4 separate regions of the Homo sapiens genome follow, and all the other regions are linked to region 2. The links are contacts of gene promoters, found by promoter capture Hi-C in blood cells and fetal thymus (Javierre and others, 2016). All regions are on one chromosome and are shown on one strand. The core of a region is centred on a gene start or on the middle of the fragment in contact, and the rest is flanking DNA. Distances in the headings are between cores, read along the strand shown. Region 1 overlaps PELI2 (pellino E3 ubiquitin protein ligase family member 2). Region 2 holds the start of KTN1-AS1 (KTN1 antisense RNA 1). Region 3 overlaps SOCS4 (suppressor of cytokine signaling 4). Region 4 overlaps PELI2 (pellino E3 ubiquitin protein ligase family member 2).

Region 1 (5,048 bases), core at 450-2,949, 620 kb after region 2:
TGTACGTCGTAGGAAGCACTGATAAAAATGCAGCTGAGTGTCAGATGCTTTTATTACCTGGAAGCTGGGGCCCTGACTATGAATACACAGTTTACTTCCCACTCGGGCAGCAAGTTTCCTGGCATGTGTCTGCCTCTCTCCCTGCAGGCTCAGGTGCCCCTGTTCCTGTCGTCAGCATCCGGCCCTGCACTGCTGTTGCCCTCTGAATCTCCTCTGTCTTTCCTGTCTTTGGCTGTGGTCTCTTCACTACCTACCCTGTCCAATCTAAGTGAGAAAGCTGCATCACGCTTAAGGTTTTCTTTCCTTAATACCAGGCCCCACTGCCCCAGTGAGTGCCCAGATCCTGCAGAATCTGCTTCTTCACCAGTCGCCATCCCTAGCATGGACATTTGCAGTGGACATTTGTGAATGGACTGATGGATGAGCCACTGATAGTGTTCCCTTCACTGCAGGCCTTAGTATATTCATGCCTGTTAGATGTGACACTTAAGTGCTAAATATACTTTGAAGGTAATGTGGAACCCTCTCTCCATCACATGAAGCATGTCTGCTCAGGGGCATCCCTTCACCCCGCTGAAAAGCTTGAATAATTCTCCATGGTAACTGGATAAGGCAGCCCTGGATAAGGCAGCCCCACGTCCAGAGACTGGCACATGAAGTCTTTCACAGAATGCCCCCCGCCCCGCCCATACCCTTCTAGCCTCCTTTCCACCAGTGCCCATTCCTCTGCCTCAAAATTCAGTCAATGGAGAATTGTAAAAGATTAGTACATTTAGGATCTTGTCTTTTATGTAAGTGAAAATAAGGACCGAGTGTTGATGCTTTGGATTCAAGAGCCAGCTGTGCAAAATTAAAGTATCCTATTATTCACTGTGTGTAATGATGACCCTAATGAATGTGGGATAATTCACTTCCCATTGATGAGAATTCAGTCTAAAACTGTAAACTAGATGCTCATTAATTTAATGCTTTTCCTTGACACATGTTTTGTTTCTACAGCTGTTAGTGAAATGTTTTTAGGCATCTGTGCAGGTGGAAGGATGCATGCAAGCTAAATAAGTCTAGAGGACGAAGAGAATCTCTTTGGTATTCCTTATAACCATCCTTCTAAAAGGGGATCCCCAACCCCCTTCAAAAGCATGCTTCTGGAAGTCTCTTGTGGCTCAGTCTCTACCCTGTTTACTTGTCATATTGTGTCTTTATGTCTGCTTCTCACCATTTTGCCATTCTCATTTTCTAGTAGGGACGTGGGCATGGAGAGACAAAACACCGGAACTGCCAGGAGAGAGCAGAGCTTCCCCTTCCTGTGAGCAGCCCTGGGTGGTCCTACCCCCTCCCCTCACAGCTGGTTTGAGGCTGAAGCAGCTTTCCACTGCATCTGTCCACCGAGGCAGTTCTGAAGCTAGTTGGGCCTTTTAATGGCCGTAAAACAGAATTGCTGTGTGGAAGGCCTTTCAGCAATTTAGCTAAAGGCTTTAGAGGCAGTGGAGATCTTTTCACTTACGAATAGTGGCACTAATGAAACAGGTGGGGATACCTTTCCTCTAAATGCTGCCATTCTCTGTGTTCAAACACTGCAAACCCCTCATCCGGAGAAACTTTCCCACCTTGGCTGTGTTAGTCCATATTAAACCGTTTGTTAAGTTTGGGAGCGGTTCTACAGAGATCTTCTGGTTGTTTAAATGTGAATCAGATGTCAAAAAGCCTAATCTGCCCAGCTGGCAGTTTGGGCCCCAGTCTCAGAGGCTGCACATGTGCGCAAGCCGTGATTGGCAGGTGTGGTTTCAGGCAGCATGTGACAGTGCTCCGGACAGGAGAGCATGGCCTCTGCAAGTGTATTCCCAGCTGGCAGGATGTGGCTTTTATTTAACTGCAAAATGTCAGTTTATCATTACTGGGCGTGGGTAGAGAAGGAGGGACTCTGTACAATTAAGTGTTTACTCAGCAGGTGACTACAATAAGTACAGAAATGGTTAAAATGTTATGACTGTGATTTTTAAGTACAATTTCTAGGATTGTGGAGGTTACATTGTATAAATAGGATTAATACCAAATGAATTTAAAGGCTACAGAGAAGAGATTCCCTAGGAGTAACTCCCCACCCCTCCTTAAAATAACGATGTCTGTTTCTTTCCAAAGCATGTTTTCGTTTTGTTTTTGTTTTGAGGGGTTTTTCGGTGAAATTGTGAACCCTGAAACTAGTGTGTCTGGCATTTATTTCTGGAGAAGGCCCTTCTAAGTCTGTGTTTACTAAGCAATTTGAGCCACAGAAAACTTTTAGTCTCTGATAATTTGATATCTGGTGATGAGACAGTAATTACATCACTATTTCTAGGTTGGTAATCTTTGCTTTGGAAAATGTGTAATCCTCTGCTTCAGACATACTCAGTGTGGATCCATCACAGATGTGGCTGAAAGAAAAAAATCTGCAACCTCTTGCTTTTGTACATTCTTTTCTCTTGCCAAAGCTGTCTTGCCCTCTGCACTGTGATTGTATTATACTGCCCATTTGAAAAATGGCCGATAGGATCATTTTAAAATCATAATCTTTAAAAAATATTTTTACTTTAGGAACGTTTGTCTTAATTTTTGCCGATATGGTGTGTTAAGATTAGAATCTGTTAATTTCCTGACATTTATTAACTACGTGATATTTAAATTCCTTGCCTATTTTTGAATTGTATTGTTTGACTTCTGTTTTTTAATTTGTAGAATCTGTTATATGTGTTGCATATATTTTGTTTATCTTTTAACTTTGTTCATGGTGTCTCATCTCATACTTGAGTTGGGTATAATCAAATCTGGAATTTTCTCACTTAAGCTTTATAAGTTTCTTGTTTTGCATAAGAAGTGCTTATCTATCTCAAGGTTTATGTAACATATTTTTTCAGATACTTTAAGTATTTTATTCTAGGTGTTTAGATTTTTCTTGCATTAGAATTTTTTGTTTATTTAATTAATATTAATTGAGCATCTGCTGTGTGCCAGGCCCTGGGCTCTGCATGGGATGAGTTAAGACAAACATGGTCCCTGCACAAATGGAGGTTGTAGGGTCAGAGGCAGGCAATAAATAAGAAATCAAACAAATAAATATATAATATTCATTGGTGCTCAGCACTGTCAAGGAAACAAACAGTGGAGAATACTGTGAGGGCCAGGGACACATATTTAAGTTTTGATGAGTTATGAAGGCATACATAGAGTTTAGTCTTGCAAACAGAGAGGGGCAGAAGTGTAACTGTCAGCATATTCTAAGACTCTGAGGCAGGCTTGAGGGCTGGTTAGTGGGGAGTTGGAGCTTGGGATGAGATGAGGGTACAGTCAAGTCTTGTTCATGGGCCTTGGCTTTAATCTGGTTGCAATAGGAAGCTGTTGGGTGTTTGGGGAGACATTTATGCATGAAGCGGGTGTTCTGGCTTTGATATGGAAGGAAAGGATGGAAGCACAGAGACCAGTTAGAGCCTGTTGCATTGGCTTAGACCAGAAATGAAGTGGCTTAGACTAGTGTAATGGTTAATTGTATGTGTTAACTTGGCTGGGCCATTGTGCCTAGATTTGTGGTCAGGTGTTATTCTCAATGTTTCTGTGAAGGTGTTTTTGGATGAGATTAACATTTAAATCTCTAGACTTTGAGTAAAGCACATCAGGTAAAAGCTTGCATAGAACGAAAAGATTAACCCAATCCAAGCAAGAGGGAATTATCAGCAGATGGCCTTCAGACTTGAACTGCAGTCTTGGTTCTTTCTGGGGTCTCCGGCCTGCCTGTGCACACACACACACATGCAGACACACACACCAGGAATGGTGACTGGTGAAGACACACACACACACACACACACACACACACACCAGGGATCATGACTGGTGAAGACACACACACACACACACACACACACACACACACACACACACACCCACCTCTTTGGTCCACTTCTCTAGAGAACCCTGACTAATACAACTAGGATGGTGGGAGTAGAAGTACAGAGAAGCGAATATATCTTTGAGGAAGAAGCAACGGGACTCTCTCAGAGGAATAATTAATTGATTGTAATGTATGGATGATGATGCCATTCAAGGCAAAAAAGAGGAGCCGGTTTAAGGAGAAACTCAAAGAGTTTGGTTTGGGTCTTGTGTAGTCTGAGATGCCAGTGAGATATGAGGGGAAGAGTTGAGGGCACAAATTGGATACATGAATCTGGAATTCAACCATGTAGAGAGGGGCAGAAGATTTAGGACTGAGCATTGGTGAATTCATCCTTTAGACAAAGGCTGAAAAGGAGTGACCAGGAAATAGGGAGGAGAACCCAGAGAGCGTGGCATCATGGAGCATGAGAGGAGTGTGCCTAAGGCAGACTGGAGTAGCTGACAACATCACATGCACTGAGTGAGTCCAGTGAGATGCGACTTAAAGGAAGGGACTTAGATTTGACCACTTGCAGGTTGGTGGCTATGGTGGCTAAGGCAAATCTGATGGAGCAGCGGGGACAGTGTCCAGCATGGAGTGGCTGAGCCATAAGCAGGAGATGAGCAAGTGCAGAGCCCACATGTGACAGCTCTTTGGAACAGATGTGCAGTGATGGGGAGTAGCAAAACTAGGGAGGGCTTGGGGGTCATGACTTTTTAATGATGGATGATAGGAGAGCATGCTTATATGCTGATGGAGATGACCCAGTATGGTGGGATATTGATGACAAGTAGAGAGAGGGTATAAATGGTTCTTGTTTTCTATCTATTCATTGGTCAATTTTGGTACTTTTATATTTTGTTAGAAAATCTTCCATCTACTCTGGATTTTTGACAAAGTGAATAATGTTCACTTTATTTTAATCATTAGTGTCTGTAATTATATCACCTTGTCTGTTCCTAATTTTGTATATTTTTTGTTCTTCTTTTCTTGCTTAAATAGCTTTTGTTTTACTCATATTTTCAAAGAGCCAGCTTATGACTTCACTTACTTTTTCTACTGTTATTTTCTTAAGTTTTATTAATTTTACCTTGTATCTTTCCCCCTTCCTCCTACAAGAATTCTGTAAACAAAAACAATTTTA
Region 2 (5,605 bases), core at 896-3,395:
TTTTTTAAGACAGAGTCTTGCTCTGTTGCCCAGGCTGGAGTGCAGTGGCACCATCTTGGCTCACTGCAACCTCTGCCTCCTGGGTTCAAGCGATCCTCCTGCTCAGCCTCCCCAGTAGCTGGGATTATAGGCACCTGCCACCATGCCCAGCTAAGTTTTGTATTTTTAGTAGAGCTGGGGTTTCACCATGTTGGCCATGGTGGTCTCGAACTCCCGACCTCAGGTGATCCACCCAGCTCGGCCTCCCAAAGTGCTGGGATTACAGGTGTCAGCCACTGCGCCCGGCCTCTAGTAAATCTTTTTGTTTTGATGTGAATAAATAGAAAGCTTATAAAAAATAAAGCATTCAACCACTTCCCTTTCTATAGTCAAAGTTCAAACGCCAGAAAAGCCGAAATAGGTGATACAAAGTCATCCTTTAGTATAAGCAGTAGTATGTTTTGAGAAAATCCTAAACTCCACTCATTGTCTTACTTACAAGTGCACCGAAATATTATTGCCTGTAAATGACATTGCGGTTTTACTGGTCAGGAAAATGAATGATATAAATTTTTAATTCTAACCTAAAACCTGCGTTAGTACTAACCTGAGGAAATAACATGGTTGTTTGTAAGCTAATCAAGAGCCCTTAAACTCCATTACATAAATGATACACTTACCCTTTGTATTAAGGGACTAACGGCTTCGCTTTTCAACAAAGCTGGATCTTCTGGCACACGCTCAGAAGATAGCCAGTACTTCAGAGACAGATTGCTTTGAGGGCACTGGAACCGCTGAGGGGCAGAGTAATCCTAATGAGAAAGAAAAAAGAGGACGCCTCTGGAGTTAAAATAAGACAATGCATCTGTGGAGAACACGGTGACTGAAGACTGGCAGAATTCTCAATATCTCAGGCCACTATACACTGCGCAGTTTTCATTTGTATTTTGGAGGTGCTCTAGAAAACTTAGAAATGATTAGAATAAAAAGTATGGATACTTTTAACCAGCCCATGTACAGGAAATTCTGTTGGTGTAGAAACGGTTCTGCTGTTCATTCCTTAACTGCTTCTGTTCCCACTTTGTCAGATGTAGGGCGAGGTGGTGGTGGTGAGTCCTAATTTTTTCTATCTCTATCCACAGTCTGGAATCGTTAGGATTATTTTAAGCCTTCATAACATTTGCGGACAGCTTGGAGTGTTTTGTACATGTAGTGGGGCAGTGCCTGGCCTCCTGTGAGAGATTGATCATCGGTAAACAATCCACACGAAACTCACTTGCCAGTGGACGGGGAGGATCGCTGCCATCCTTTCAGCAAAGAGCAAACGAATAAGGAGAGATCCGGGCCCATCCCTCCTCGCGCAGCAGTTTCTAGATTTTTACCCCGGCTTCATAAATGGCTACCAGCTGGCAGTCACAACACTTTCATAATGTTTGCACACAACTCATTTGGGTCGCTTTCTTTTCTTTCCTTTTTTTTTTTTTTTTTTTGAGAGAAACGGAGAGTCTTACTCTCTCGCCCAGGCTGGAGTGCAGTGGCGAGATCTCGGCTCACTGCAACCTCCGCCTCCTAGATTCCTGCGATTCTCCTGTCTCAGCTTCCCAAGTAGCTGGGGCTACAGGCGTGCGCCACTATGCCCAGCTAATTTTTTGTACTTTTTTTGGCAGAGACGGGTTTTACTATATGTTGGCCAGGCTGGTCTCGAACTCCTGACCTCAGGTGATCCGCCTGCCTTGGCCTCCCAAAGTACTGGGGTTACAGGCGTGAACCACCGCGCCCGACCATTATTTGGGTCGCTTTCTAATTTCTTTCTCCGTTTGTAGCTAGCGTTGCCCGAAGGAGATTTCAGAGAGATCCCCTGGAGAAAGGGACGGGGGATGTCGTTTTCCAGTAATTTCTGGGGGAAATCTGGGATAGTCAGGGGGTAAATCTAGTGCCGTTTGCTGAAGTTAAAAGGCGTGGGGAGCCAGGTGGTGCCCTGGAGGGAGGGCCGCGCGAGACGAGACCAACCTTCGGGACAGGGGAGAGCGGGGCTACTGAACGCAGGGGATTCCGCTGAGCCTCCAGCCCCTGAGCGTCCACCTTCGGCCCAGCTGGGGGACGCGGTCTCGGGAAGAAAGCCCGGAATCCCGAGCCGGCCAGCCGCGAGCAGCGAGTACCGGAGCGCGTGGGCAGGCGCGCGGAGGCAGAGGCGGGCCGGCGGCTGTCCCTTTAAGGGGCCGGTCTCCCGGCGCCGCCGGCCCAGACGCCAGGACGTGCCGGGTCCGCCCCGCCCCGCCCCGAAGCCGCCCGTTTCCTGCCGAGCGGCGCGACGGCACCTGAGCGACTGCGGCGGCGGCGGCGGCGGCGGCGGCGCCTCGGAGCGGGCGGCCCGGGCTGTAGTGCCGGCGCCGCCGCGTCTTCCCGGTCTCCTTTCCCGGCCGCACAGGGTGAGGGAGAGCAGGCCGCACCGGGACGGGCGCCGGCGGCGGGGAGCGCGGGGGGAGGCGGCGCCGGCCGCGGGGTCCTGGGGCAGGCGGGAGGGCCGCGCCGGGCGGGGGGGCGCGGCCGCGGGGCCCGGACGCCGCCCGCTGGGTAGGCCTCGGGCATCCGGTTGCCGCCGCGGGGCTCTTGTTGGGGCCGGGACGCCGCAGGGGGCGGGCTCGGAGGGACCTCCTCGGCCTCGCGGGGCCGCTCTGGGCCCGACCCCGGCTCTGTCGCGGCACCCGGGGCGCGGCCGAGGGACACCCCCCACCCTCCCCAAGGACGACTCTCCCGAAGGCGAGGTCGACCCGAGCGGGCCCTGGGGTGACCGAGGCACCTATTTTTAGCCAAGCCTGAGGGCCCCCGGGAGGGAAGGCGGATTACCGCCTCCTCGGCCGGTGGACGGAGGCAGCGCGTCTCCGGCGGCGTCCCCGGGCCGGAGCTGGGCCACACTTACGCCATGCTGGAGTTCCAGTCCTCGCCGCTGCCTCCGGCGGTCTGGGCGCTCGCCCCCTTCCCCGGCGCCCCTCCCGCTGCCCTTTGCGAGTCCCCAGGTCAGGGCGGGAGGCGGTTGGGCACGGAAAGCAGCATGAGGGGGGACTTTGGAAAAATCCATGGACCACTCTCGACACCGGCGAAGTTATCCCTTCCTGTCCCCGAGGGGTGTGTCCTAGCGATTCGGCCTGACCCCTTCAGTTTCCAAAAGTGAGATTTTTGGCCTTGGGGACCTCGCCGGAAAACTACGCGGGAAGTCTAGAGAAGTCGTCTGGCTCTCAGCCATACGTCTGGTGTGGGATGTGCAGCCCCGCATGCTGGCGGTGAAGGCGCTGGGTGCACTAGATGTGGGCAGCCCCGGACGCGGGCAGCGGCGTCCCAGCCGGCCCCAGTTGCACCTTGACTAGGTTAGGTTGAAAGTAAGCTGTTCAGTGTTGGCCCTTCTTTCCTGTGGGAGGAAGGAGGAATCTAAATTCAGAACTGTGTTGGCAAACGGATTCCTTAGCCGCTATTTAAGTTAGTAGTGCTTAAAGAGCTACGGTTGAAGTTAACTGTTAAGGTGTGTGTGTGTGTGTGAGTGTGTGTGTGTGATGACTTTGTGGAAAGCCTTGAGTAAAGAGCTACGGTTGAAGTTAACTGTTAAGGTGTGTGTGTGTGTGATGACTTTGTGGAAAGCCTTGAGAAATGTAGACACTCATGGCCAGCCCAGCTAAAGATAAGCATCTTCGGTGAACTAAAGGTTCTGAATTGTATAGGAGTTGACTTAAAGTTAGAATTTTTGCTAAATTAGGTTGCATTTGTTTTCCTTAGCTTACCTAGCAGGCTAATGGCAACAGTGTCTCCAGTTTGGTCCGAAGCAATTGCTGGTGAGACTTGGGATAATGATCCCAAGCTGGTGAGACTTGGGATAATGATCCCAAGAATAACACTAAATTACTCTTGAGTATTTTGGGTAGACATGCCTTGCAGTAGACTTTCATATTTGATGTGCTGCCTGATAAAAAAGGCTCTTTTTTTTTTTCCTTTTTCCTTTTTTTTTAGTTTAAGGATCTAACCTGAAATAGCTGGGTCTGTTCATGAGTTTCCCTCCCACCCCAACATTGAGTTTCAAATGTCTCTTCTAATTTTGTAGCCTTCATCAGACATAACAATACCTTATCAAGTGAGCTTAGAGAATAAGGTGTTCTACTTGATTTACTTGAGGCTGATAATGAATTTGAAAATATAACAAGATCTATTGAAAAATTTTCTTAATACTTGAAAATTATAAAGAATATCAAGTATTTAACTCTTAATGATTCAGCGTCAGCATTATGAAGAGACATTTACGATTTTGTTTCCAATTTAGATCTTTCTGTATTCTTTTAATACCAGTAGTCTCTTCTGTTTGATGTTGTGTTTGTCCCTAAAAATGCCTCACTTCAGTCTCCCTTCTAGTTTATAGGCTTTAATCTGCTTTTGGTAGGGAGATCGTTTTAATAATTATATTTTTAATATCAGTCAATATGGCTTTTTAAAAGAGCCTAAGACGTGAAAACCTTTTTGAGACTTCTAAAGAACCCATATTAAGATTGTCACTGTTCTTAAGTTCTTAACTTGAATGTTAAGTTATGGTTAAAAGTTCTTAATCAGCCTGTCATGGTTAAGATGACACGTAGAATACTGAATCATAATTGTTTTTTTAAAAGTTGAATGTGTCTTATACATTTCCTATGTGTAAGTTAATTTCTTAACTTGAATGGAACATGTGTTTTTAATTGTATGCCTATAATTTTTATAGCAAATGAAGTTTTAACCTGAAAGATCTCCAATACTTTGTTAAAATATTAAATTGTTAATGAACTTAAGTGGTTCTAGGAAGGTTTTGGTTCTCTTGGGAATCTGACCTAATATGTAATAAGGAAATGAGAAAAATCGTGCTTTGCAAGATCGTTCATATATTTGAGAATACACCTTATGACCTGCTTGTTCTCTGTACTGTTTTTAGTGACTTTGAAGGTAAATCCAGAGTATACTTAGAGGATACAAGCAAGTAACTATTTCTCTAGAAGTGACATTGGTGATCACTCATGCTCAAAGAGAATTGCATTTCATTGCTTCCTCTTTCAGTTCCTGTGAACATGACTTTGTCCCAATCAAAAAATGTAATTTATTTTCAAATCACTGGGAAAATATTGGTCTAGATGAGAATATAAGCCTTTTTCCCTCCTCTATAAATAGAAAATTAAACATTAAGGGGAAGAACCTTATGTGCTGTGAACTAAGGGGTTTAATTTAACCTTCTGTATCTGAGGTCTAGAGAAAGAGAAATAATGACAGTTTACAACTGTGTGCCGAGCTGTTGTGCTTAAATGTGTTTTTGACAGAGGTGGCAGTGAAAACTAGGCTATTTTTCTTTTTTAAAAAATGGTACAAGCTTTTAATTGGTTTTATGTAAAAGAAAATAGGCAAGATATACTTTTAATTCTAACAATAGTTTTAGTAGATACTCTGATAGGAAATATAATATTCCTCGGAAATGTAGAAGACATACCCTAAAAAAAGTTATGATTTAGTATTTTACGAATCGTCCTAGCTACTACAGGGAGATTAAGAACTCTTCCGTAACTTAAATCTGGTTTCAGCAAAGTGATTTGTACACTAAATGTAATTTGTTTGCACTCTTCTT
Region 3 (5,040 bases), core at 1,153-3,652, 530 kb before region 2:
AAACATATCATTCTGGAGGTGCACTTACTCTTCTACAATGTGGCCGGATCATTTGTCATTCCTGAATAGGTCTTTCTCTCAACCTGCAAGAGCTAAACCATCTTCAAAACATAAATCTTGTTCCTTTCTCATTGGAAGCTTTGAAAATAATGATAACACTATTAGTAGCTAGTAGTTACTAAAGTGCTAAAGTAATTGTGGGGTTTTTCTGTATTAGCTTATGAACTGTTGCTTCTACTTAGCCCTTTTATAGAAACTCTGAGCTGTTACTTTGGGGAAATTCCACAATGTATTAGCAGCCACAAATTTCCACTGGTAACCAAAGAGTACCTAAGTAGTTTTTCATTATTTTAAGTTGAATTTGAATAAAGATTCCAGAAATAAACATGGAGCTCAGTATTCAGGAAGCTTAATACTGTTTTTGATCTACAAGATCCAAATAATTATCCCTATCTTCAGAATTAACTTAGTCTGTAATGTGGCTTCAAAAAAAGAAAGCCTTTTGACAGCTACATGACTTACACCATACAGAACAGTACTGGACAAAAGGGGTGATATTTTAAATTTACTATCCCAGAAACAGGGCAACGTTTTTAGAAACATCTTTAGCCCAAAGTAACTAGTAAAAATAAATGGAGTGGTATCCTATCTTCTTTTTTTAAGGAATCAATGAATAATAAATGTAGATAGACAATTTTCTTCTGGTGAGCTGTCTAACCCTTTGTACACATTGACATTTTTAATATCGTAACTGATTTCTTGATGCTAGTTTAGCTATATTAGGAAACTGCTTCTACCTAGATTGAAAGAAATTTGACTCATAAACTTCCAAGTTAGAACAAATATTTCTTCATTATTGTTGCTTTTATGTGAGTAGCATTTCCCTATCTTGCAGTTCTGTTAACATGAAAATGGCATTTTTCCATAATAGCTTTAAAATAATTTTTTAGTAATTATTACAAAATTAAGGAAAATCTCTATTACCGTTATCTTTTAGCATTTTTTTTTTCCTCAGTGATCTCAAGATTGTCTTAGTCTCAATGAGATGTAGCTACAAAAATGGCACCTCTTAGCAGTGATGAGGCTCAGGATATCGGATATCATAACACCAATGTCAGGATAAATATCTCTTCTAAAGACGATATTTACCTTTTACAAGGTTAGAAAAGTCTCATACTACCTCATCTTTATTGTGGCGCTTTTGTAGATCACTGAGAAGCTTATCTTATTAACCAATATACCACTTCCTAAATATCCATCTTTGGTGAAAGAAAATAGTGTGGTAAGAGTACCCATGATTATAGTTTTTTATCAGAATTTGATAAGATTTTCTGTTTCTGTGAAACAATTATTTTAAATATTTTTCTTTTAAAAATAACTTTTTATCAGTACAGAAAAACCTAAGGGATGACTAGCTTACAAATATTCTGTTAAGGGGTAGTTTTATAAAGAAAAATGATATATAGTTATGTTGTCTTTTATAGTGTTAAAATTAGTATTTATATGAAAGTCAAGATCTAAGTACCTTTTCATATAATTCAAACTGATTGCTTGTGATATGTTTTCTCTGGCTTTTTTATTTTTTCAACTTCAAGGTATTAACAGCTGTTAACACTTAAAAAGTACTGCCACATATGTAGCCTTGAAGTAGTTGATCTAATAAATGAGAGCAGGGAGGAGATTCATTGACTCTGAAATGATTTTTATTTTTCCTTTGGTATTTGCTACAGTGAAAAGAAGTTTGGAAAGTAGATACATAAAGACTTGAGAAGGGAATTGTTTAAGGGAAAAGAAAAGAGTAATAATTTTTTTTAAAACATTAAGGAATTGGAATTCAGAAAGGTTACCCCCTTCCTCTGTGTCTTTGTAAGGATACATTTGGAAGAACATACAGTATTCAGAAACTAACCTATATAAAATGTAAACAATATATTGATTGCACTATATAAATGAGTAAATTTTGAGAGGAACAATGTGGGAATGTATAAATTTGTCTAAAATTTTATAACTGTTGAACAAAGGGAAGATTTGAACAGTGTAAATTCCAGAGTTGAGAAAGCATTTAGCATGGTGGAAATGTGGAGAGCTTATTGGTGAGAGAGGATGGAGCTAAGAGAAATAAGATCAAATATTAAAATTAGGAATTTAGGCATTACCTCAGGGAAAAGCCTTGACAGTGAAAAGAAACTACTTAATCGCTAATAGCTAGTCTGGACCAGACACTTAACTGCGCTTTGGGAATCATCCTGGGCTAATCAGGAAATAAACTTGACTTTTCTATTTTTCTCTGAAGCTTTACAGGACATACTCCCACTCCCATTTTTTTCTAAGCCTACAGCATCTTGATTCATAGTATAATTCCTGAAGTATGCTGAATGGACTTTTTAAGGTTCCTTTAGCATTTTTGTATAGAGTTATATGTGATCTTTCTATAACCATGCCATTCACTTAAATAATTCATGAAGGGAATGGTTTAATTTAAAGGAAGACCTAATAGGAAGAAGATTAAAGGAAGCTTTTAGTCAGCCTGTGGCTAGATTTATTGATTTGGTGATCAAACCTGTGCTATTTCCTGAATTTCAGCTAATGGCCAACTGTGGTCAAAGAATGGCTTTCAGTTAAAGTTTTGACTTCTTATTATAAATAATATAAAGAATGTCTCAGTAATTAGAAATCCCTTAATAAGTAGAACAAATGTGGCAAGTAGGACTCCTATCGGTATACAAATTCCATTTCTTTTTATAAGAAAAACACATAAACCATTATCATTTATTCATGAGCCAAAGCCATTAAGAAGATAAATCCAGTTATCAGCTTCCTGTCTCTGAAGTTTGGATCATTTTATAGATCCACGCAATAGAGAGCTTCCTTCCTATGAAACAAAAACCTTGAGATCTCTTTTTTTTTGAGACAGAGTCTCGCTGTTGTCAGCCCAGGCTGGAGTGCAATGGCGCAATCTCGGTTCACTGCAACCTCTGCCTTCCAGGTTCCAGCAATTCTCCTACCTCAGCTCCCAAGTAGCTGAGATGACAGGCGTGTGCCACCACGCCCAGCTAATTTTTGTATTTTTAGTAGCGATGGTGTTTCACTACATTGGCCAGGCTGGTCTCGAACTCCTGACCTCAGGTGACCACCCGCCTCAGCCTCCCAAAGTGCTGGGATTACAGGCATGAGCCACTGTGCCCGGCCAAGATCTAACTCACGCTTACTTTTCATTAAAATATTTCTTGTCGCTTTTAGCTATTGTCAGAATCCAATAAACAGCTTACGCATTCATTTTGGTAAAGCAAATTTCACAGGAAAATAGACAAAATTATAAGAGATTCCTGGAGACAACACAAGGAAAACAATGTTTAAAAGCAAAATAGCCTGTGTAATGTTAGGTAATGTAATGCCCAAGTGAATAAAAGATTTTTCGTCAAGCAAACTACTGTTTCTACTTTGGGGGAAAAAAGTCAGTTTTACATTTGTAATTTAAGGAAAGAACAGAAAGCACAAAGGTTTTTCTTTTCTTTATTAATGGCCTACTAGAAATGAGCAGTGCAAGAGTCTACCTGTACTATTCTAATACAGTAAGATATTGGACACAAAATGGAGGTAACTTTTTAAAATAGATTGGCTTGGAAGTTGAAATGTAGATTAATGGATATAACCCAATAGAAAGGGATTTTCAAATAAAACCAAAGTCTATTTTTTTATTTACTTTCTAATTTTGAACAGATGACTCAGTCCTAAATCTTTGCCTTTATTTCCTATAAAATGTAGGTGATACTTGTAACTCGACTTCCTGGAGTTAATTCTTCAGCAAGAGGTGACCCTGGGAGCGTACTTTAAAATAATTGCTGTACAGCCATTGAGTACTAACATGATGATAGGTTTTCAAAATATCTTTGTAGTGGATGCTGCATAATTACATTCACTTCTCTTAGACTGTAAAAGACTTTCTTGACTTGTTTTAACAGTAGAGATAGCAGTACAATTTGAATTTATGGTTTAGGCTCTGCAATTAGAGGAACAATTGCAGTTTCCTCCTACCCTTCATATGGTCTGTGTAAAACTGATGTTTGCTTAACTTATTTTAAAAGTTGATTACGTTTTCAGAAAATAAAGATAATCACTTTTGCCATGGTTATAATCAAATCTAAGCTTTCAGACTTGAGAGCCATGGTGTAAAACTCAAGGAGGTTTATTTAAATTATGCTGACTTTGCTAGAATTGGATAAATTCTGTATAAGCCAAGTATGAGTTCACATGTACTCGAATATACAGTTTTCACAAAGCTATTACTCTCATCAGTCAGGCTTGTATGATCTATTCCTTACCACAAAAGAAGTAGACAATTGCCACTTTTATTTCTAATCCTTAAGTTGAATGTTTCTTCTTGGATGTAAGTTCAAATAAATTGATCTGGATAAATTTTCATTTCTACTTAATTAAAACTTCCTATGTAAAATCCAAAGGCTTTGTGTTTTATTTTAAAAACATAGTCTTTACTTCACACATTCAACTTAGAATCTGAAAAAGATAGAGAAACCCATATTCTTACATATTTTCTAATTTATAATACACTCCTTTTAGTTTTTTTGTGTTTGGGACTTCCAGAAGCAGGTGCCAAAATGTGATTAGAGGTGCAAGAGATTTATTTGGAGTGAAACACCTAGAAAGATAGAGAAGGGAGCAGAAGGTGGGGAATTCTTCATACCACACAGAAAGTCTGACACCTAGAAGGAAGGATTGGGTAGGGGAGCTTCGGACTTCAGTGCATCTTGAGACTGCTAGATGAGGACTTGGTTCCCAAGCAAAGGTTGCCTGTAGAGAAGCCCACAGGGACAGGAATGGCCTAGATCTAGACCCCTCCAACGTGCTCAGCTACTGGCTGATTGCAGGCAAGGAAAAGTTGGAGGCTATCCATTACTGGTACACAGCGCCAGGACTAGGGTATGGTGAGGCACTTAGGGACAAATATTTGACTATACGACTAAGGAAGACAATGTTTTGGTACAATATTGTAATATCTGAATTGATGCAAAAAAGCCTATG
Region 4 (5,472 bases), core at 1,536-4,035, 590 kb after region 2:
GTAGGAGGGGTCTGGTATTGATGAAATTTCTCAGCTTTTGTTTGTCTGGGAAAGTCTTTATTTCTTCTTCATCTTTGAAGGATTTTTTTTCTAAATATACTATTCTAGGGTAAAGTTTTTTTCCTTCAGCACTTTATGTCATGCTACTCTTCTCTGGCCTCTGAGGTTTCCACTGAAAAGTCTGCTGCCAGACATATTGGAGTTCCATTGTATGTGATTTGTTTGTTGATTGGTTTTTTTTTCTTTCTTTTTTTTTATTTCTTGAGACGGAGTCTCGCTCTGTCTCCCAGGATGGAGTGCAGTGGCACGATCTCAGCGCACTGCAAGCTCCATCTCCTGGGTTCACGCCATTCCCCTGCCTCAGCCTCCTGAGTAGCTAGGACTACAGGCGCCTGCCACCACGCCTGACTATTTTTTGTGTGTTTTTTAGTAGAGACAGCATTTCACCATGTTAGCCAGGATGGTCTTGATCTCCTGACCTCATGATCCGCCCGCCTCAGCCTCCCAAAATGCTGGGATTACAGGCGTGAGCCACCGCGCCTGGCCTAGGATCCTTTCTTTGTTCTTGACCTTTGGGAGTTTGATTATTAAATACCTTGAGGTATTCTTCTTTGGATTAAATCTGCTTAGTGTTCTATAATCTTCTTGTAGTTGGATATTGCTATCTTTCTTTAGATTTGGGGAGTACTCTGTTATTATCCCTTTGAATAAACTTTCTATTCCTATCTCTTTCTGTACCTTCTCTTTAAGACCAATAATTCTTAGATTTGCCCCTTTGAGGCTATTTCCAAGATCTTGTAGGCATGCTTTTTTTGTTTTTTATTCTTCTTTCTTTTGTCTCCTCTGTATATTTTCAAATATCCTGTCTTCAGGCTAACAAATTCTTCAGCTTGATCCACACTGCTATTAAAGGACTCTGATGCATTCTTCAGTACACCAATTGCACTTTTTCAGCTCCAGAATTTCTGCTAGATTTTTAATTATTTCAGTCTGTTTGTTAAATTTATCTGGTAGAATTCTGAATTCCTTCTCTGTGTTATCTTGAATTTCTTCGAGTTTCCTCATAAACAGCTATTTTGCATTCTCTGTGTGAAAGGTCACATATATTTGTTTCTCTATGTTTGGTCCCTGGTGCCTTATTTAGTTCATTTGGTGAGGTCATGTTTTCCTGGATCGTGTTGATGCTAGTAGATGTTCTTCAGTGTCTGGGCATTCAAAAATTAGGTACTTACTGTAGTCTTCACTTTCTGGGCTTATTTGTAGCCCTCCTTTTTGGGATGGCTTGCTGGATATTTGAAAGGACTTAGGTGTTGTGATCTAAGCTATATCGGCTTTAGGGGGCACTTCAGGCCCAGTAACACTGTGGTTCTTGGAGACTCAGAGAGAAACTGCCTTGATGGTGTTGCACAAAATCCAGGAGAATTCTCTGGATTGCCAGGCAGAGACTCTTTTTCTCTTCTCTTACTTTCTCCCAGCCATACAGAGTCTCTTTCTCTTCTGAGCCACCTAACGCTGGGGGTGGAGTGACACAAGCACCCCTGTGGCCAGCACCACTGTGACTGCACTGGATCAGACCTGGAGCCAGCACAGCATTGGGTCTTGCCCAAGGCCTGCTGTAACTATTCCCTGGCTACTGCCTATGTTCACTCAAGGCTCTGGGGCTCTGTAATCAGCAGGTGGCAAAACCAGCCAGGCTGTGTCCTTCCCTTCTGAGCAGCGTGCCCCCCCCCAGACCCTGGGTGGGTCCAAAAGTGCTGCCCTGATGTCAGGGACTAGAGTCAAAAACCTTAGAAGTCTACCTGGTGTTCTATTTTATTGTGGCTGAGTTGGCCCTCAAACTAGAAGGTGCAGTTCTTCCTGTTCTTGCCTTCCATTTCCAAAGGCAGAGAAGCCTTACCCCTTAGCCACTGCCACCCTAGGCCATGAGGAGTACTGCCAGACTACTGCCAATGTTCCCTTACGGCCTAGAGTCTCTTAAGTCAGCTTGTTGTGAATGCTGCCTGGCCTGGGACTCACCCTCAGGGCAGTGGGGTCCCCTTTGGTCCAGGGAAGGACCAGAAATGCCATCCAAGAGTCAAGTCCTAGAATCAGGGACCCCAAGATTCTGCTTGGTGCTCTACCCCCCTGTGGCCGTGCTGGTACGTAAGGTGCAAGACAAAGTGCCCTTTGCTTTTCCCTCTGCCTTTGTCAAGCAGAAGGAGTTTTGCCCCATAGCTACCACAGCTGGGAATGTGCTGAGTCTCAACAGAAGCCAGCAAGTCTCACCAGAAGCCACCAAGGCCCTTGATGTAGTACCTGGGTATCACTGCTGGTTATTCAGGGTTCAAGGGCTCTTCAGTTAACAGGTGATGAATTCTGGCAGGACTGGGTCCTTCCCTTCAAGGCAGTGGGTTCCCTTCTTGCCCAGGTTGTATCTAGAAATGTCATCTGGGAGTTAGGGCCTGGAATGGGGACCTCATGACTCTGACTGGTGCCCTATCCTGCTGCGGCTCAGCTGTTATCCAAGATGCAAGACAAAGTCCTCCCCACTCTACCGTCTCCTCTCTTCAGTTGGACAGAAGGAAAGGGTCTCTTTTGGAGCCACAAGCTGTGCAGCCTGAGGTTAGGGGAGGGGTGATGCCAACACTCCCTGGGCTGTTCCAGCTGGTGTCTAAGTATGTCATGTGTCCCTCCTCTCCCTGCCGCCAAGCCCACGGTCTCTGGGCCTAGCTCATCACTAGGACTCACCTAAGAGATGCAGTCCTTCTGGCCTCGACTGCCCTCCAAGTTTACATGGAGACACAGAGCACTGTATCCCTTGGTGGTGAGGTTTGCGGGGACTCAAGTTCAGACCACTGGATAGGCGATTGGCCAGGGCTGGTTTAAATGCTCCCTCCGTGGTTGGGCGTCAGCTGAGTTGGTCTGGTGTTCCTTTTGCTCTAACAGAACAGCACTTAGTTCAATGCCTCACCATTACTGTGCTCTCCCTCCTCAGCTCCCAGAGAAGCTCTTAGCACTAGGCTTGTTGCTGCTGCGTGGGGTGTGGAAGGGATGGTGTCAGTGATTCAGGACTGTTTCTTCTGTCTCTTCTAGAGCCTCTTTCAGTGATAATGAAGTTAAAACCAGGTATTATCAGTGCTTACTTGATTTTTGGTTCTCATGAAGGTGTTTTTTCTGTGTAGATAGTTGTTAACTTGGTGTCCTTGTGAGGTGGGACAATGGGTGGAGCCTTTAATTCTGCCATATTGCTCCGCCTCCTCCTATATGCAGCATTTCTTAAGCAAAGAGAAATAAACGTTGTTGCGTTTCTGGGCTTTATAGTCCATTGGGTCAGGGGAAGTCCATGCATATATGATAGGTTAAATAATAAGAGGGTTGGGACTATAATTTCATAAAACCAATGTTAGGCGCTTATTGGCATATGGGCATTTCCTTAAACGCGGTTGGAATAGTGCATTTATACAGTGAGTTAGGGTGAGCTACCTCAAGACTGGTGCCAGATTGCAGGGTTTTCTCAGAGACTGTGTGCCCTGCCTTTGAGTCTGTCTGTCTCTAGTGTCACGTCCTGTTCATCTGCAGTGTACAGTCTACTTTGATCATAGTAGTTGCTTGTGATTTGTTGGTGCAAGTGACAGAGCAGTTGCTTTGGAAGGAAGGCGGAGTCTTCAGCCTGTAATGAAGAGCTGACCACCTCTGGAATGTGATCCTGTGATGCTGATGCAACCTCCACTTCTGGAGCCCACATCGCTTCCATTCCATGTGGATGTCGCTGTAAGAGTTCAGGCTAGTTAAGATAAACCGTGACGTCTCCAAAATGTGACTGGGAGCACCTAGCATCCCCCTTCTTGCTCTGGTTTCCCTTAGAAAATTCTTATTGACAAATACATTTTTAGGTGGCAGACATCTTTTTAAGACTCCATCTTTGCACTGTATGCCAAAAAATGTCTTGAATTTAAAAACTGTCAGTGTTGTCTACTGGAAAGAGTATGAAATTTGGAGTCAGACAGAACTGATGTAGCTTTAGGTTCTGCCTGACATTTCCTAACTGTGTAAGTTCGTGTGTGATCAGCCATTCTGAGCCTTTTATCTGTCCACTAGGAGTAATAATGTCTCCTTCACAGGGTTTCTTGGCACATAGTAAGTGTACAGCAAATGTTATTAATTCCCATTAATATGTGAATTAATATATGAACTCTAAACTATAAAACAGAAAAACCCTTTATTACTTGGTTAAGTTTCTTACACAGCATTTTCATTATTCTTTGCAGCTCCCAAATACCCTTACTGTAAAGACCAACTGTTTGCTCTGCATATATGAAGAGTTAAATTTTCATCACACATTTATTAAATAACTGTTTTTAAGTCTCCAGAATAAAAAAGAAAGTTAAGCCTGAAAGGCTCTTATGGGCTCGAATTGAAACACCCCTGTTGCAGCAGCTGAAACAGGTGTGGCAGCAGCACTCGGACATTTTATTTCTACAAACTTACTGGCTGAAAAGCGTGCCAGCCCAGGGAACGTTCTGACCTTCTTTCATGGGACAGTAACTTTTTGCCTTTGTAAGCAGAATTTTGTCTTTATGACTGGGCTCTATTCTACTATACAAAAGATGGTTGCTATGGTTTGAATGTGCCCCTCAAAGTTCATGTGTTGGAAACTTAATCCCCAATGCAACAGTGTTGAGAGGCGGGACCTATAAGAGGTGATTAGGTCATGACGGCTCCACCCTTGTAAATGATTAATGGTGTTATATCAGGAATGGGTTCCTGATAAAAGGATGAGTTCAATTTCTTGCTCTCTCTGGTACACATGCTCTCTTACCCTTCCACCATGGGATGAAACATCTAGGGAGGCCAAGCAGGCCTCTCCAGATGCAGGCTCTCTGACCTTGGACGTCCCAGTCTTTAGAACTGTAAGAAAGAAATCTCTGTTCTTTATAAATTACTGAGTCTCAGGTATTCTGTTATAGCAGCACAAAACATACTAAGATAATGGTCCTCTCATCAGCCAGCCAGCTTGTAGGTTTTCATTGCCTACCGTGTGTCCCTGTTACACTGTGCCAGGTGCCAGAGATACAGAAGGCCTCACTTTTTTAGAACTCACATTCCCTAGGAGGCAGATGGGCCAGATGGGGGGTGTGAATAGGCAGGGGAAGATTTGGTGATAGTTTTCAGGAGGAGGTGACAGTGTTCCACTTAAAATAGATTGGGGACCAGCTGGGCACAGTGGCTCATGCCTGTAATCCCAGCACTTTGGGAGGCTGAGGTGGGCGGATCACTTGAGGTCAGGAGTTCGAAACCAGCCTGGCCAATATGGCGAAACCCTGTCTCTGCTAAAAATACCCAAAATAGCTGGGCATGGTGGTGTGCACCTGTCGTCCCTGTTACTCGGGAGGCTGAGGCATGAGGATCACTTGAACTCGAGAGGCGGAGGTTGTCGTGAGCCAGGATCATGCCACTGCACTCCAGCCTGGGTGACAGAGGAGACTCCATCTC

What was found. Contacts are between HindIII fragments. The CHiCAGO score rates a contact against its expected background, and 5 or more counts as called.
Region 1: a fragment that was not itself captured here is called in contact with the fragment with the promoter of KTN1-AS1 in region 2 in 1 of 17 cell types (fetal thymus); the score reaches 5.3 in fetal thymus.
Region 3: a contact is called between a fragment that was not itself captured here and the fragment with the promoter of KTN1-AS1 in region 2, in 3 of 17 cell types (non-activated CD4 T cells, total B cells and total CD8 T cells). The highest score is 6.1, in non-activated CD4 T cells.
Region 4: a fragment that was not itself captured here is called in contact with the fragment with the promoter of KTN1-AS1 in region 2 in 1 of 17 cell types (fetal thymus); the score reaches 5.0 in fetal thymus.

What each region holds. Positions count from the first base shown.
Region 1 is chr14:56,194,100-56,199,147 of GRCh38, forward strand. All of the region lies in intron 2 of PELI2 (pellino E3 ubiquitin protein ligase family member 2), which reads left to right. Among named protein-coding and RNA genes, the nearest start is that of PELI2, 78 kb to the left of the region's middle. The HindIII fragment of the contact is 2,240 bases long and covers 580-2,819 here.
Region 2 is chr14:55,577,947-55,583,551 of GRCh38, forward strand. KTN1-AS1 (KTN1 antisense RNA 1) reads right to left here and starts at 2,146. Exons shown (of 3, transcript NR_027123.1): 1 at 1,990-2,146; 2 at 660-791. It overlaps KTN1 (kinectin 1), which reads left to right and starts at 2,261. Exons shown (of 44, transcript NM_001079521.2): 1 at 2,261-2,408. RefSeq lists enhancers at 1,486-1,605, 1,616-1,705 and silencers at 2,146-2,405, 2,466-3,105, 3,285-3,579. The HindIII fragment of the contact is 5,026 bases long and covers 326-5,351 here.
Region 3 is chr14:55,045,031-55,050,070 of GRCh38, forward strand. SOCS4 (suppressor of cytokine signaling 4) reads left to right here. Exons shown (of 3, transcript NM_199421.2): 3 at 1-4,459. Among named protein-coding and RNA genes, the nearest start is that of MAPK1IP1L, 4.1 kb to the right of the region's middle. The HindIII fragment of the contact is 222 bases long and covers 2,292-2,513 here.
Region 4 is chr14:56,166,543-56,172,014 of GRCh38, forward strand. All of the region lies in intron 1 of PELI2 (pellino E3 ubiquitin protein ligase family member 2), which reads left to right. Among named protein-coding and RNA genes, the nearest start is that of PELI2, 51 kb to the left of the region's middle. The HindIII fragment of the contact is 6,830 bases long and covers 1-5,472 here.